Regions from separate parts of the Homo sapiens genome. Here regions 1, 2, 3 and 4 are each linked to region 5. Evidence: promoter capture Hi-C in 16 types of primary human blood cells and fetal thymus (Javierre and others, 2016). All regions are on one chromosome and are shown on one strand. The core of a region is centred on a gene start or on the middle of the fragment in contact, and the rest is flanking DNA. Distances in the headings are between cores, read along the strand shown. Region 1 has its middle 26 kb from the start of WDR17. Region 2 overlaps LOC107984113 (a long non-coding RNA gene). Region 3 has its middle 97 kb from the start of WDR17. Region 4 overlaps LOC107984113 (a long non-coding RNA gene). Region 5 holds the start of SPCS3 (signal peptidase complex subunit 3).

Region 1 (2,700 bases), core at 54-2,553, 280 kb before region 5:
GTTCCAGTGTCTGTTGTTCTCCTCTATGTGTTCATGTGTTCTTATCATTTAGCTCCCACTTATAAGTGAGAACATGTGGTAATTGGTTTTCTGTTCCTGCATTAGTTTGCTAAGGATAATGGCCTCCAGCTCCATCTATGTTCCTGCAAAGGACATGATATCATTCCTTTTTTCTGGCTGCATAGTATTCCATGGTGTATATGTAATACATTTTATTAATCCAGTCTATCATTGATGGGCATTTAGGTTGAGTCTGTGTCTTTGCTATTGGGAATAGTGCTGCAATGAACATAGGCATTCATGTACCTTTATGGTTGAACAATTTATATTCTTTTGGGTATATTCCCAGTAAGGGAATTGCTGGGTTGAATGGTAGTTCTGTTTTAGGTGTTTGAGGAATTGCTGTACTGTCTTCCACAGTGGGCAAACTAATTTACACTTCCGCCAACAGTGTATATTCATTCCTTTTTCTCCACAACCTCGCCAGCACCTGTTATTTTTTGACGTTTTAGTAATAGCCATTCTGACTCGTGTGAGATAGTATCTCATTGTGGTTTTAATTTGCATTTCTCTAATATTCAGTGTTATTTAGCTTTTCTTCATATGACTGTTGGCCACATGTATGTCTCTTTTTGAAAAGCGTCTGTTCATGTCCTTTGGCCACTTTTTAATGAGGTTGTTAATTTTTTTCTTGTAAATTTGTTTAAGTTTCCTATATTAATAGATGCTGGACCTTTGTCAAATGCATAGTTTGCAAAAATTTTCTCCCATTCTGTAGGTTGTCTGTTTACCCTGTTGATAGTTGTTTTGTTTGTTTGTTGTGTTTTGTTGCTGGGGAGAAGCTCTTTAGTTTAATTAGATCCCAGTTGTCAATTTTCGCTTTTATGGCAATTGCTGTTAGCATCTTCATCATGAAATCTTTGCCCATTCCTATGTCCAGAATGGTATTGCCTAGGTTGTCTTCCAGGATGTTCACAGTTTTGGGTTTTACATGTAAGTCTTTAATCCATCATGAGTTAATTTGTTTAAATGGTGTAAAGAAGGAGTCCAATTTCAATCTTTTGCATATGGCTAGCCAGTTATCCCAGTACTACTTATTGAGTAGGGAGTCCTTTCCCCATTGCTTGTTTGTATTGACTTTGTCAAGGATCAGAGAGTTGTAAGTGTGCAGCCTTATTTATGGGCTCTCTATTCTGTTCCATTGGTCTATATGTCTATGTGTCTGTTTTTATACAAGTACCATGCTGTTTTGATTACTGTAGCCCTGTGATATAGTTTGAATTCAGGTGGCATGATCCTCCAGCTTCTTCTTTTTGCTTAGGCTTGCTTTGGCTATTTGAGCTCTTTGTTGGTTCCATATGATTTTTTTTTTTTTTTTTGTCTAGCTTTTAGTGAACTATCATTGGTAGTTTGATAGGAATAGCATTGAATCTATAAATTGCTTTAGGCAGTATGGCCATTTTAACAATGTTTTCTCTCTCTATCCATGAGCATGAAATGTTTTTCCATTTGTTTCTGTCATCTCTGATTTATTTGGGCAGTGTTTTGTAGTTCTCATTGCAGAGATATTTCACCCCCATCTGTTTAGCTGTATTCCTAGGTATTTTTTCCTTTTGTGGCAATTGTAAATGGGATTGCATTCCTGATTTGGCTCTCAGCTTGACTATTCTTGGTGTATAGGAATGCTAGCAGGTTTTGTACATTAATTTTGTATCCTGAGATGTTGCTAAAGTTGTTTATCAGCTTAAAGAGCTTTTGGGCCAAGACTATGGAGTTTTCTAGATATAAGATCGTGTCACCAGAAAATAGGGTTAGTTTGACTTCCTCTCTTCCTATTTGGATGCCCTTTATTTCTTTCTCTTGCCTGATTGCTCTAGCCAGGACTTACAATACTATGTTGAATAGGAGTAGTGAGAGAGGGCATCCTTGTATTGTGCTGGTTTTTAAGGGGAATGCTTCCAGCTTTTGTCCATTCAGTATGATGTTGGCTGTGGTTTTTTCATAGATGGCTCTTATTATTTTGAAGTATGCTCCTTTAATACCTAGTTTATTGAAAATTTTTAACATGAAGGGGTGTTGAATTTCGTTGAAAGCCTTTTTTGCATCTATTGAGATAATCATGTGATTTTGTATCTTTAGTTCTGCTTATGTGATGAATCACATTTATTGATTTATGTGGAACCAAACTTACATCCCAGGGATAATGTCTATTTGAGGGTGGTAGATATGCTTTTTGATGTGCTGCTGGATTGGGTTTGCCCATGTTTTGTTGAGTATTTTTGCATTGATGTTAATCCAGGATATTGGCGTGACATTTTCTTTTTTGTTGTGTCTCTGCCAAGTTTTGGTATCAGGATGATGCTGGCCTCATAGAATGAGTTAAGAGGAGTCCCTTCTCCCAAATTTTTTGAAATAGCTTTAGCAGGAATTATGCCAGCTCTTTTTTGTACATCTGGTAGAATTCAACTGTGAATCTGTCTGGTCCTGGGCTTTTTGTTGTTGTTGTTGGTAGGCTGTTTATTACTGATACAATTTTGGAGATAATTTTTTATCTGTTCAGGGATTCAATTTCTTCTTGGCTCAGTATTGGAAAGAGGTTTGTGTCCAGGAATTTATTCATTTCTTCTACATTTTCTAGTTTATGGGCATATAGGTGTTCATAATATTCTCTGATGGTTATTTGTATTTGTGGGGTTAGTG
Region 2 (2,700 bases), core at 80-2,579, 400 kb before region 5:
TCTGATATTGGAGAAATGAAAACTTTTCCAAGGTGGTATAATGAAATAAAAGGAAGAAAGCAATTCAAGAAGCCCAATTTGAACATCTCTACATAGATGAAACTAGCTCATTTGATTTCCCTTCTAGTGGAATGAAGTCAAAGTCTGGAAAAAGATGAGTTTATTTGGGGCTTACAGTAACACTTACATTATAAAACTCTGACAAACTCTAAAGCAAAAATCTCTAGCTACTGGTAATTTTAAATCTACCTAACATAAAATTTAATTGAATATGAAAAAGCTTTCAACTTTTCTTTTCCTATCTTTTCTTCATTTCATTAACTGATGAAAAGAGATACTGTATTAGCAGTTATAAACAGAAACACATCATTGCCCACTACAATTGCCCTATAATTTAATCAGTACATCTTGTAGCTCATTTTTATCTGTACTGGTAACTAAAATATAATCCACGCTTGTTATTTGTCTAGGATATCATAATAACATGACTTCATATGTAGATACTATATTATTCATATAAAAATTGATTTATAAATCTTTTTCTAGAAAATATAAATGCTGAATCTTTGCTAAGGTATAGGTTAAACAGTTATTACAAACTTTGTCAAAGACAATCTTTATAGTCCCTGACATTTCATAACATGATTTATATATATATATATATATATATATATATATACACAACATACAAGTGAAAAGATTAACAACTTGAGAGTGTTTTTTCTTTAGAAGAATATTTTACTGCAAAGGTAGAGAGCCATGGGAATGTGTATGAGCACATTGAATTTAGAGTTCAAGTTCTGGCTACGAGATACCTGGGAAAGTAACACACATTGAATAGTGAGAGGCAAGCATATACCTGCCTCATCAGCAGATGAAGTGTGAGCAGAAGTCGGTGATGGAGGGGAAGGTTCCAAGCCTCCAATACTCCATGCTCACCTTCCTGCAGTTTTGGGGTTTTTTTTGTTGCTTTGTGTTTTTTTGTTGTTGTTTGTTTGTTTTTAAGACAAGATCGGGCTCTCTTGCCCAGGCTGGAGTGCAGTGGCGTGAGCTTGGCTCACTGCAGCCTCTGCCTCCCATGCTCAAGTCATCCTCCCACCTCAGCCTCCCAAGTAGCTGAGACCACAGGCATGCACCACCATGCCCAGCTAATTTTTGTATTTTTTGTAGACACAGGGTCTCATCATGTTGCTCAGGCTGGTATCCAACTCCTGAGCTCAAGAGATCCTCCTGCCTCAGCCTCCCAAAGTGCTGGGATTACAGCTGTGAGCCATCATGCCCAATCTCATCTTTCTGCTTTTGAATCAAGTCCTCATGGCTGGCATTGCCTCAGCCATCTTGATATCATAAGACAACAAGCATGAAGAGTAAAAATGGTCATCATTCCTGATTTGCCTGGGATCATCTAGGTTTGCCTAGAATAGTCCTATTCGAGTATTTGTCCTAGGTATTTCCTTTCAAATAAATAATCATTATTAATAGTTGCACTCAAATAAGCAAAGATGCATTTGGTAGCTCTCTACTTTCTACTTCCTGCTTCCTGTTTCTGACACGACCATATTAGTAGCGTGTGGGAATCTTATGCAACAATTAGAGCTCTCATTTTAACACATGCTTAAATCTAAAGGTTAGCAGTGACCTGTCTTTATTGCTGACGTTCGCCAAATGAAATATTACTCAAATCACCTTACAGAAACAGCAGGCAGTATAATTAAAGACAAAAAGAATTACACCGGACACCATTTTCTAGGAACAGACCAAAGTGGCAGTGAGAGAATGCTTTGATGCTCCTGCCATTCCGACCACACATTGTAACCCCCAAAGGTGCTGTGGCCCTTGCTAAAGACTGCGAAAGGAACACAGCAGACAGGCCACTAGTCAGAGAGATAAGTAAGGAATATGGGAAAGGATAGGTGAGGTGTATATGAAATATATGAGGGAAATCAAGGCTGAGTGCTTCTGCCTGAGAACGAATCAAGAGAAGCCTGAGGCCAAGTGGGATGGCTCAAGCCTGTAATCCCAGTACTTTGGGAGGCCGAGGCACACGGATCACCTGAGGTCAGGGGTTCGAGACCAGCCTGGCCAAAATGGCAAAACCCCGTCTCTACTAAAAATACAAAAATTAGTCAGTCATGGTGACCCACGCCTGTAATTCCAGCTACTTGGGAGGCTGAGGCAGGAGAATCACTTGAACCTAGGAGGCAGAGTTTGCAGTGAGTGGAGATAACACTACTGCACTCCAGCCTAGGCAACAGAGTGAAAATCTGTCTCAAAAAAAAAAAAAAAAAAAAGAGAGAAGTCTGAAATACTTGTGCTACAGTGGTTTTGTCATTTATTGTGTGGTGCAAATCTACAATTATTTATACAATTTATTTTGGGAAAGCTTTTTAATTTTGTAAAGAACATTAGTTCTTAAGTTCATGTTTAATGAAAATATTAATACCACACTTCCATTTATCATCTGAGAGAAATTAATAATGAATATGTAAGTTTTCAAAGTGTTTGTCAACCAGGGATCATAATAATTACTATACCTGATCACATGAAAATCAGAAACACACAACCACTGAGGAAGAATCAGCAACTTTTTAAAAGTCTGGCAGTTATATTATGAAGATGGTAACGGAATACAATGATTTACGATGTGAAACTGGAAATGGGTGTTTACACATCACTCTGTGGAGTGCGACTTTGCATTTA
Region 3 (2,700 bases), core at 167-2,666, 350 kb before region 5:
TAAAATATTATTTTCAGTCTGCAGGATACCAGGTTAATATATAATAGTCAATCACTTTCTTATATGCCAGCAATGAGCATTTGGAATTTGAAATAAAAAACAAAATGTCATTTACATTACCATTAGAGAAATGAAATACCTAGGTATAAATCTAACAAAATATACACAAGAACTATATGAAAAACTACAACATTCTGATTAATGAAGTCAGACAAGATCTACATAAATGGAGGTACCCCATGTACATGGATAGAAAGAGTCAATATTGTCAAGATGTCAGTTCTTCCCAATTAGATCTATAGTTGCAATGTAATCCCAATCTAAATCTCAGCCAATTATTTTCAAGTTATCAATAAATTGATTCTAAATTTTATATGGAAAGAAACAGAAAAAATACAACATCAACAGCACGATGTTGAAGGAGAAGAACAAAGTTGGAGGACTGATATCACCTGACTTTAAGACTTACCACAAAGTTATAGCAATCAAAACAGCGTAATACTGGCAAAAGAATAGACAAATAAATCAATGGAACGGAATCGAGAGCGTAGTAATAGAACTACACAAACACAGTCAATTGATCTTTGGCAAAGGAGCAAAAGCAACTCAATGAAAAAAAAAACAGCCTTTTAAACCAAAGATGCTGGAACAAGTAGACATCCATAGGCAAAAAAAGAACGAATACAGAAGGAGTTATTATAGCTTTCACAGAAATAAACACAAAGGACATCATAGACCTAAATGTAAACCACAAAACTGTAAATATCTTAGGGGATGACATAGGAGAAAAATGTAAGTGATTTTAGGTTTAGTGATGAATTTTTAGACAGATTACCAAACATATGACTCATGAAAGAAAATATTGATAAGATGGACTTCATTAAAATTAATCATTGCTGCTTGGCAAAAGATGCTGTAAAGAGAATTAAAAGACAGGCCACCAGCTGGGAGAAAAATCTTTGCAAAACACATATTTGATTAATGACTGGCATCCAAAATATATCAAGATTTCTTAAATATCTACAGTAATAGAACAGATAACCCAATTAAAAAACGGACAATAAATCTGACCTAACATCTCACCAAAGATGACATAGAGATTATAGATTATCATATGAAAAAATACTCCACATCATATGTCATTTAAACAACTGAAGGATAAAAGAATAAGATACGTTTACACACTTGTGAGAATGGCAAAAATCCAAAACACTGACAATATCAGATGCTGGCAAGGATGTAGAGAAATAGGAGTTCTCATTCATTGATGGGCTGGTAGAGATGCAAAATGGTACAGCCATTTTAGAAAACAGTTTGGCAGTATTTTATAAAACTAAAAATACATTTGGCATATGATTCTAGGTATTTACCTACATGAATTAAAAACTTTAGACTACACAAAATTTATGGATATTTATGGCAGTTTCATTCATAATTGCAAATAACTTGGAAACAACCAATATATCCTTCACTAGGCGAATAGATAAATTGTAGCACTTCCATGCAATGTAATGTTTTACAACAATAAAAAGTAATGAGCTATCAAGCCATGAAAAGATAAGGAATCTTAAATACATATTATTAGGTAAAAGAAGCTAATTGAAAAGGCTATGTACTATATGACTGCAACTATATGACATTTTGGAAAAGACAAAATGTCTATAGAGACAATAAAGTGATCAGTGGTGGCAGAGGTCTAGTACAAGGAGGGAGAGAAGGCAGAGCACAGGGGATTCTTAGGGCAGTGAGACTATTCTGTACAATACTCTAATAGTAGATAGGTATCATCATACATTTGTCAAAACTCAAAGAATGTGCAACACGATTGATTGACCCCAAATGTAAACTATGGACATTAATAGTAATATATCAGGTCAGGCAAGGTGGCTCATGCCTGTAATCCCAGCACTTTGGGAAGCTGAAGCGAGAAGATCATTTGAGGTCAGGAGTTCGAAGCCAGCCTGGCCAACATGGTGAAAGCCCCTCTCTACTGAAAAAAAGAAAAAATTATCTGGGCGTGGTGGTGGGCACTTGTAATCCCAGCTACTTGGGAGGCTGAGGCAGGAGAATCTCTTGAACCCGGGAGGCAAAGGTTGTAGTGAGCAGAGATCATGCCACTGCACTCCAGCCAGGGCAACAAAGCAAAACTCTGCTCAAATAATAAGAATAATAACAACAACAATATATCAACATTGACTGATCAGTTACAACAAATGTATCGCAACAGGGCAAAATATTAGTAATACCGGAAAGTGTGTGTGGAGGGATGCAGGGTAAATAGAACTCTATGTACTTTCAACTCAATTTTCTATTAATCTAAAATGGCTCTAAAAATAATGTCTATTAATTTTTTAAAACCCACCAAAAGGCATACAATCATCTTTTGAAAATGAGTAATTATTAAGCACAAAAATAAAGCAATTTAACTACTTTTACTTTCAGGACCAATTCAGCAATTACTTTCAGATATTATTGTTCCTTAAAACACAATGACGCCGAAATATTCCACTGTGTCCTTCCTTTCTCCTTTCTAAAAACATTTTTCATCAAAGAAAACTTCTCCTACTGAAAAATATTTGGCAAATTATCTGGAAATAAAACTATTTTGCCCTTGCACTTTGCCACCTCTCAATAAACAAGTTTGTTTTCACCGGAAATCTGATTTTTTGGCTTTTAAACAGAAACACACCAGACTTGTGC
Region 4 (2,700 bases), core at 141-2,640, 370 kb before region 5:
AACAACTGAGTGTTTCAGGAAAATTTTTAAACAAATAACACTGATTAGTTAATGTTCCTATCATCTTCCATTCATTTATTCATTGTGCCAACCAATATCAAGCACCTGCCTTGTGTGAAGCACTGTTCTAGGGTCTGGGTCACAATCATGAAAAGATGCATAAATCTCTGTGTCATGTAGCTTCCATTCTTCTAAGGGAGACAGACAAAAACTAGTAGAAAATAAATTACACTATTTAGATGATGGTAAGAGTTCTGGAGTGAATAAATGGGTGATGTGATGAAGATGAACTGTCAAAGCCTACTTTTCTAGGTGGGTCAGGGAAGACGTTTTTGAGGCAGGTGGTCCATAGAAGCCAGCGATGTGAGGCAGAGCATGTCAAGAACAGGGAACCGCAAGCACAGCTGTGGAGTGTCCGAGGGATAAAGATGGCAGCAGCCCAAGCACTGTGGGCAAGGGCAGGGCAGGACGATGCCAGGCTACAGAGGTGGGCAGAGGACAGACAATTGGGGCCTGGTAGAGCATTCTGGGGCTTGGATTTTTAAAATGCCTTTATCCTACCATCACATTTCAGTGTTTCTGATTTGGGGAGTGATTTATAAGAAAGGTGCCTTTAAGAAAAACCAAAATATGCTTATTCACGCACAACTTCTGCTCAACTTCCTGAGAGGAAGCCAAAACTGGAGATTACTGCTGTACTGGAAGCCAGATCAAAAAAGAAAGCAAAATCATTTAAGAGCCTGCATTTGAAAATGCTTCATTTATAGGATGAAATGAAGTGTGTGTGGCTTTCTTATTGCTTTCTTCAAGCCTAGATATATTAATCATCATCTTCATTAAAATCCATTTGATGCCATAAAAGGACCAAATAATTTTCTTTCTAATTTTCAGAAACTGAGTGCTGTTATATAATTTTAAAATCTAACTACAGAGTCTTTAAAAAAAAAAAAACACTAGCTCGAATTTCCTCAATAATTCTGGCTATTCGTTTTTCAATTCTTATGTGTTTATTTTCCATTTGAACATTTAGCATTAGAAAATCTTCCTGTGATTTCCACAGCAACCACTAGAGGGAAAACTTCGACTGAAGAAAGTCATTTAAAGACACTATCTTAATAATATTTCTTAAGTACAATATTAAGTATAATATTTCTTAAGTCTAATATTCTTAAGAATAATATTTAAGTCTAACATTCTTAAGAATAATATTTATTAAGTGTAATATTCTTAAGAATAATATTTCTTAAGTCTGAAGAACTCAAAAATAATGATGTCTTCAAGATAAAATATTATAAAAGCACATCATAAATCCCACATGCATTTTCAAGTTATTCCTGATAATAATGAGCATTTGTGTTGTAATACGTATTCTGCAAATGTTCTTGCATTCATTACCTCATTTGTTTCTCCAGATGAATGGCTAATAGAGCAGGAACTATGATCACTCAGCTAAAATAAAAAAACACAAATAATTTAACCAAAGACACCCGACATTTTAATTGCACAATCAATATTACTACTGAGGGCTGAGTATATTTTTCAAGTACACTATGTTGTCTCCTCACTACTTTTTTCAAAGAAAATATGAAAATATTGTGTTCTCAATTTCCTCATCATATTCTAGATTTTTTAGTAAAATACCTAGAACACAGTAGGCACTTGATAATTAGTGAATGTATGCATGCATTCATATATGAATAAAAAGATGAATGAAGGAACAAAGCCCTACTTTTTTTCTATGCAACACTATATGCCAACATAGCACCTAGCAATAGCAATAGCAATAGCAATAGCAATGTGTTTTCCAAACACATCCCATTTCAGAGTTAGTAAATGCAGAGGACACCTGAAGATAATACTTGCAGCTTAATAAGTGCTACAGAGAGGACATGTTTTTGTGATTTTTTGCTCCAATATTATGATACCCTCATGTTATAGACAGGATGTGTCCCCCTGAAAGTTCACATGTTGAAATCCTAACCCTCAAAGTGATGGTATTAAGAGGTGAGACCTTTGGGAGGTAATTAGGTCATGAGGGTGGAGCTCTCATAAATAGAATTAGTTTCCATAAGAAAAGACATGAGAGAAATGATTTTTCTTTCCTTCATAGAAGAATACAATGAGAAGATGGCCATCTGTGGGCCGGGAGGAGGGCCCTCGCTGAGAACCTGACCATGCTCACACCCTGGTTTTGGACCCCCAGCATCCAGAACTCTGAGAAATAAAGGTTTGTTGATTAAGCCCCACAGTCTATTGTATTGTGTTACAGCAGTCCAAACTAAGATGCCACATCTGATTCTACCTCCTTTACATTGTTTGACTTTTGAATATTTGAACTCTAAAATTATGATCAATCCATCAAACTTTATATAATTCATTATCGTAACTCAAAAACACAAATATATCATATGGGTTAATACAACCACATAAGAAATCAGAAAATGCTAACTGGAAGTGAGAAGAATTATAATTGTGATTCTGTCTTTTCCTTCTGCAGGAATCCTGAAACACTGGCCACAAAGTTATGCTATGGACTCATGCCCCTACGCAGTAAAATAACAATGTTAATACTAACTTACTATCAATTGTTACTAGATTGAGCAAAGAACAATCATTAAAATGCCATAGATCCTTGAAAACAAGCAATAATTTCCTGATAAAGATGAGATACTTTTCTTATTCTACCAACAAGACTGCATT
Region 5 (2,700 bases), core at 136-2,635:
GAAAGTGATCAGTACAATCTCTGTATCACTTGCAGTATAGATGGCATTCAATAAAAATCCTTTTTTTTCTTTTTTTGTTAACAAACTGTGCCAGCCTGGAAGTTAAAAACTAAGATTTTAAACGCAACTAAGGATCTCTCTTTAGTCTCTATTTTATCGATTTTTCATTAGTTGGCTCTATTTGAGCAGGGAGTCTGCCTTATTAGTGCTGTATTCTCAAGGCTTAGAACTATTCCTGGTACACGGTAGGCACTTGGTAATAATCCTACCTGTATGGCTATACAAAAATTAATTGAATGGTCATGAATAATGCAAAGAAGCAAAAGCTTAACAAGAGACAACATAAGCCAGTATCAAGATCAGATGTTCACAGTTTTCTGGTTTGTTCCTGATCACATTCCAGGACAGATATTTTTGTTTGGTTTATGGACTGAAATTTTTAAAAAAAATTTATTTCAGCAGACCCTGAATCCATTTTTATAAAAACCCTTAGCTGTGAAAGGAACAAAGGTTTTGGCAGATAGTATAATCAGAGTCAGGATTGGCTCGGTTTGAACCCTAATGCCCTTCAGGATATTGAAAATGTGATAAAATAATTGCATTATTTATTAATGACCCAACGAAATTCTTATACATTATGCTGTAGAGCAATTCCGCAGCCATTATCTTCTTTGCTCCTAAGAACCCAGAAAGGTTATCCTTTTATTTATCAGAAATCACCATGTTAAAATGCAAATACTTAGGATCGGTAGCCTCAACCCTTATCTTCTAAAACATCTTTAGCTATCCATACAAAGCAAAGCATTAATAGGAATTGGACTGACGTTGGAGGTGGAAATACTGATGCACGTGACAGCTTTAAGGACTTGGGCGGCTAATTCCCCACTCCCCACTGCTCCTCAGATCCTCCAAAAAAAGCTCAAGTCCTAACTTTGACCAGGTTTGACAAAGAAGGGAGAGGACCAGGCGTTTTGTAAAGTGCTGCTTCCAAACGCCACCCGTCAGGACAGATTCTAAACCACCTTAACTTGCTGCCGGTTTCAAGTGAAAATAAATGGTACATAAGTAATCAAGAAGTCGCAGTCCCAGACCTCTGACCAAAGAACCGAAAAAGGACAGCGAACGACCGGTTCCCAATTCTCTGAACCCAAAGGTCGGAGAAGCAATTTAGAAGAGGAGGGGGTGGGTCTTCCACAACAAACCCCGCCCCTCCCTCACTCGTCGCTGATTGGTGGCGGCGTTAGGCCGCGACGGAGGGGCGGGCCCGCGGCTGAGTCTCTCCCTTTCCGCGCCGCCCCGTGCGCGCTGTGGGTGTGTTTCGGGAAGCGGGCGCGCGCGCGCTCGCGTCGGAGGACCGGAAAGGAGGCGGGGCTGCGGCGGCGCGCGCTCCCGGAACGCGCGCACCGCAGACGGCGCGGATCGCAGGGAGCCGGTCCGCCGCCGGAACGGGAGCCTGGGTGTGCGTGTGGAGTCCGGACTCGTGGGAGACGATCGCGATGAACACGGTGCTGTCGCGGGCGAACTCACTGTTCGCCTTCTCGCTGAGCGTGATGGCGGCGCTCACCTTCGGCTGCTTCATCACCACCGCCTTCAAAGACAGGAGCGTCCCGGTGCGGCTGCACGTCTCGCGGATCATGCTGTGAGTGAGGCCGGGCCGGCGGTGCAGGACGCCGGGACCGGGCTGGGGCGGAAGCCGAAGCCGGGCCGCCGCGCCGGGGCTGCCGTGCCGGGGCCGCGGGCAGGGCGTCCGGATCGCCCTCCTGAGCGGCAGTTCGCCCCCGAGGGCGGTCGTCAGGGGTGGACGTCGCAGGCTTTTCCGGCGTCCCCTCGGAACTTGCACCCCTCCACCGTAAATTCCCGGGCTTGCTCTTAAATTTTAATTTTGAGCGTTCCTCAGGTCGGTGCCTCCGCTTGCTTCCTGTTCCTCACTTCCCTCCACCCACGCCTGGCCAATGAGGGAGCAACACAACAGCAGAGCCGGCGCCGCCGCCCGCCTGGGCTGGCGCCTCCCGCGCGTCCGGTGCCGCTCGTGGTCCGCATGCGAGGCCCTCCAGGCGCTGCCGCCGCGCTCTGGGTCGGGCTTCCGTGGGGTTTCCTGGCGGCTCTGGAGGCCACAGGACGGGGTTGTCTTTGTGTCATTCATCACCCGAGTTTGCCCTGTTTGACATTCCCTTTACAGTTGTTGCCTTTGCACCTTCAGAAGGCAGTAAACAGTTGGAGCTGCTTTGAAGTTGGCCAGAGATGTTGGGCACTGAGAGAATTAAGCATCTTAGCCTTCTGATACAGCGAGATTTTTGTTTTGTTGGGTTTCTTTATTTCTTTTTCTTTTGCCAACCACTTGAAGAAGTCTGCGAAAACGCCAAAAAATGCAGTTCGAAATGACAGTGCCATTTCGCTATTGCCTATTTTGTCCTTGATTTTATTCTCTGGCACTTTTGTCTTTAATCGTCGTATTTTTCCATCTCTTGTTCTCATACCCTTCTACTCTATTTCCGTCTTACACAAGTTCTTTAACCTTAGTTTATTTCTTTGTCAGAATCGCCAAGAAGCCAGTTATCAAATAGCGAGCCTTCTCCCCCCACCTTTTTTTTTTTTTTTTAAATTACTGTACTGATGTTTGTTAGATATTGTTCGAATAGACCTGGGGTGGACATCAGCACTGCCATTGTCAGCCCTGTGAGGGTTAGAAGAGCTTGGTGC

What was found. Contacts are between HindIII fragments. The CHiCAGO score rates a contact against its expected background, and 5 or more counts as called.
Region 1: a contact is called between a fragment that was not itself captured here and the fragment with the promoter of SPCS3 in region 5, in 1 of 17 cell types (monocytes). The highest score is 5.5, in monocytes.
Region 2: a fragment that was not itself captured here is called in contact with the fragment with the promoter of SPCS3 in region 5 in 1 of 17 cell types (monocytes); the score reaches 5.1 in monocytes.
Region 3: a contact is called between a fragment that was not itself captured here and the fragment with the promoter of SPCS3 in region 5, in 1 of 17 cell types (total B cells). The highest score is 5.4, in total B cells.
Region 4: a contact is called between a fragment that was not itself captured here and the fragment with the promoter of SPCS3 in region 5, in 5 of 17 cell types (monocytes, total B cells, naive B cells and 2 more). The highest score is 12.0, in monocytes.

What each region holds. Positions count from the first base shown.
Region 1 is chr4:176,038,428-176,041,127 of GRCh38, forward strand. No RefSeq gene overlaps it. Among named protein-coding and RNA genes, the nearest start is that of WDR17, 26 kb to the right of the region's middle. The HindIII fragment of the contact is 5,754 bases long and covers 1-2,700 here.
Region 2 is chr4:175,922,569-175,925,268 of GRCh38, forward strand. All of the region lies in intron 3 of LOC107984113 (a long non-coding RNA gene), which reads right to left. It also overlaps a transcript of GPM6A not described here. Among named protein-coding and RNA genes, the nearest start is that of GPM6A, 110 kb to the left of the region's middle. The HindIII fragment of the contact is 2,103 bases long and covers 279-2,381 here.
Region 3 is chr4:175,967,555-175,970,254 of GRCh38, forward strand. It overlaps a transcript of GPM6A not described here. Among named protein-coding and RNA genes, the nearest start is that of WDR17, 97 kb to the right of the region's middle. The HindIII fragment of the contact is 3,233 bases long and covers 1-2,700 here.
Region 4 is chr4:175,946,250-175,948,949 of GRCh38, forward strand. LOC107984113 (a long non-coding RNA gene) reads right to left here. Exons shown (of 4, transcript XR_001741924.3): 3 at 1,396-1,449. It also overlaps a transcript of GPM6A not described here. Among named protein-coding and RNA genes, the nearest start is that of WDR17, 120 kb to the right of the region's middle. The HindIII fragment of the contact is 6,999 bases long and covers 1-2,700 here.
Region 5 is chr4:176,318,581-176,321,280 of GRCh38, forward strand. SPCS3 (signal peptidase complex subunit 3) reads left to right here and starts at 1,386. Exons shown (of 5, transcript NM_021928.4): 1 at 1,386-1,639. The coding sequence starts at 1,497. SPCS3-AS1 (SPCS3 antisense RNA 1) reads right to left here and starts at 1,930. Exons shown (of 4, transcript NR_186171.1): 1 at 1,565-1,930. RefSeq lists an enhancer at 1,197-1,697 and silencers at 1,680-1,799, 1,920-1,989, 2,020-2,099. The HindIII fragment of the contact is 6,231 bases long and covers 325-2,700 here.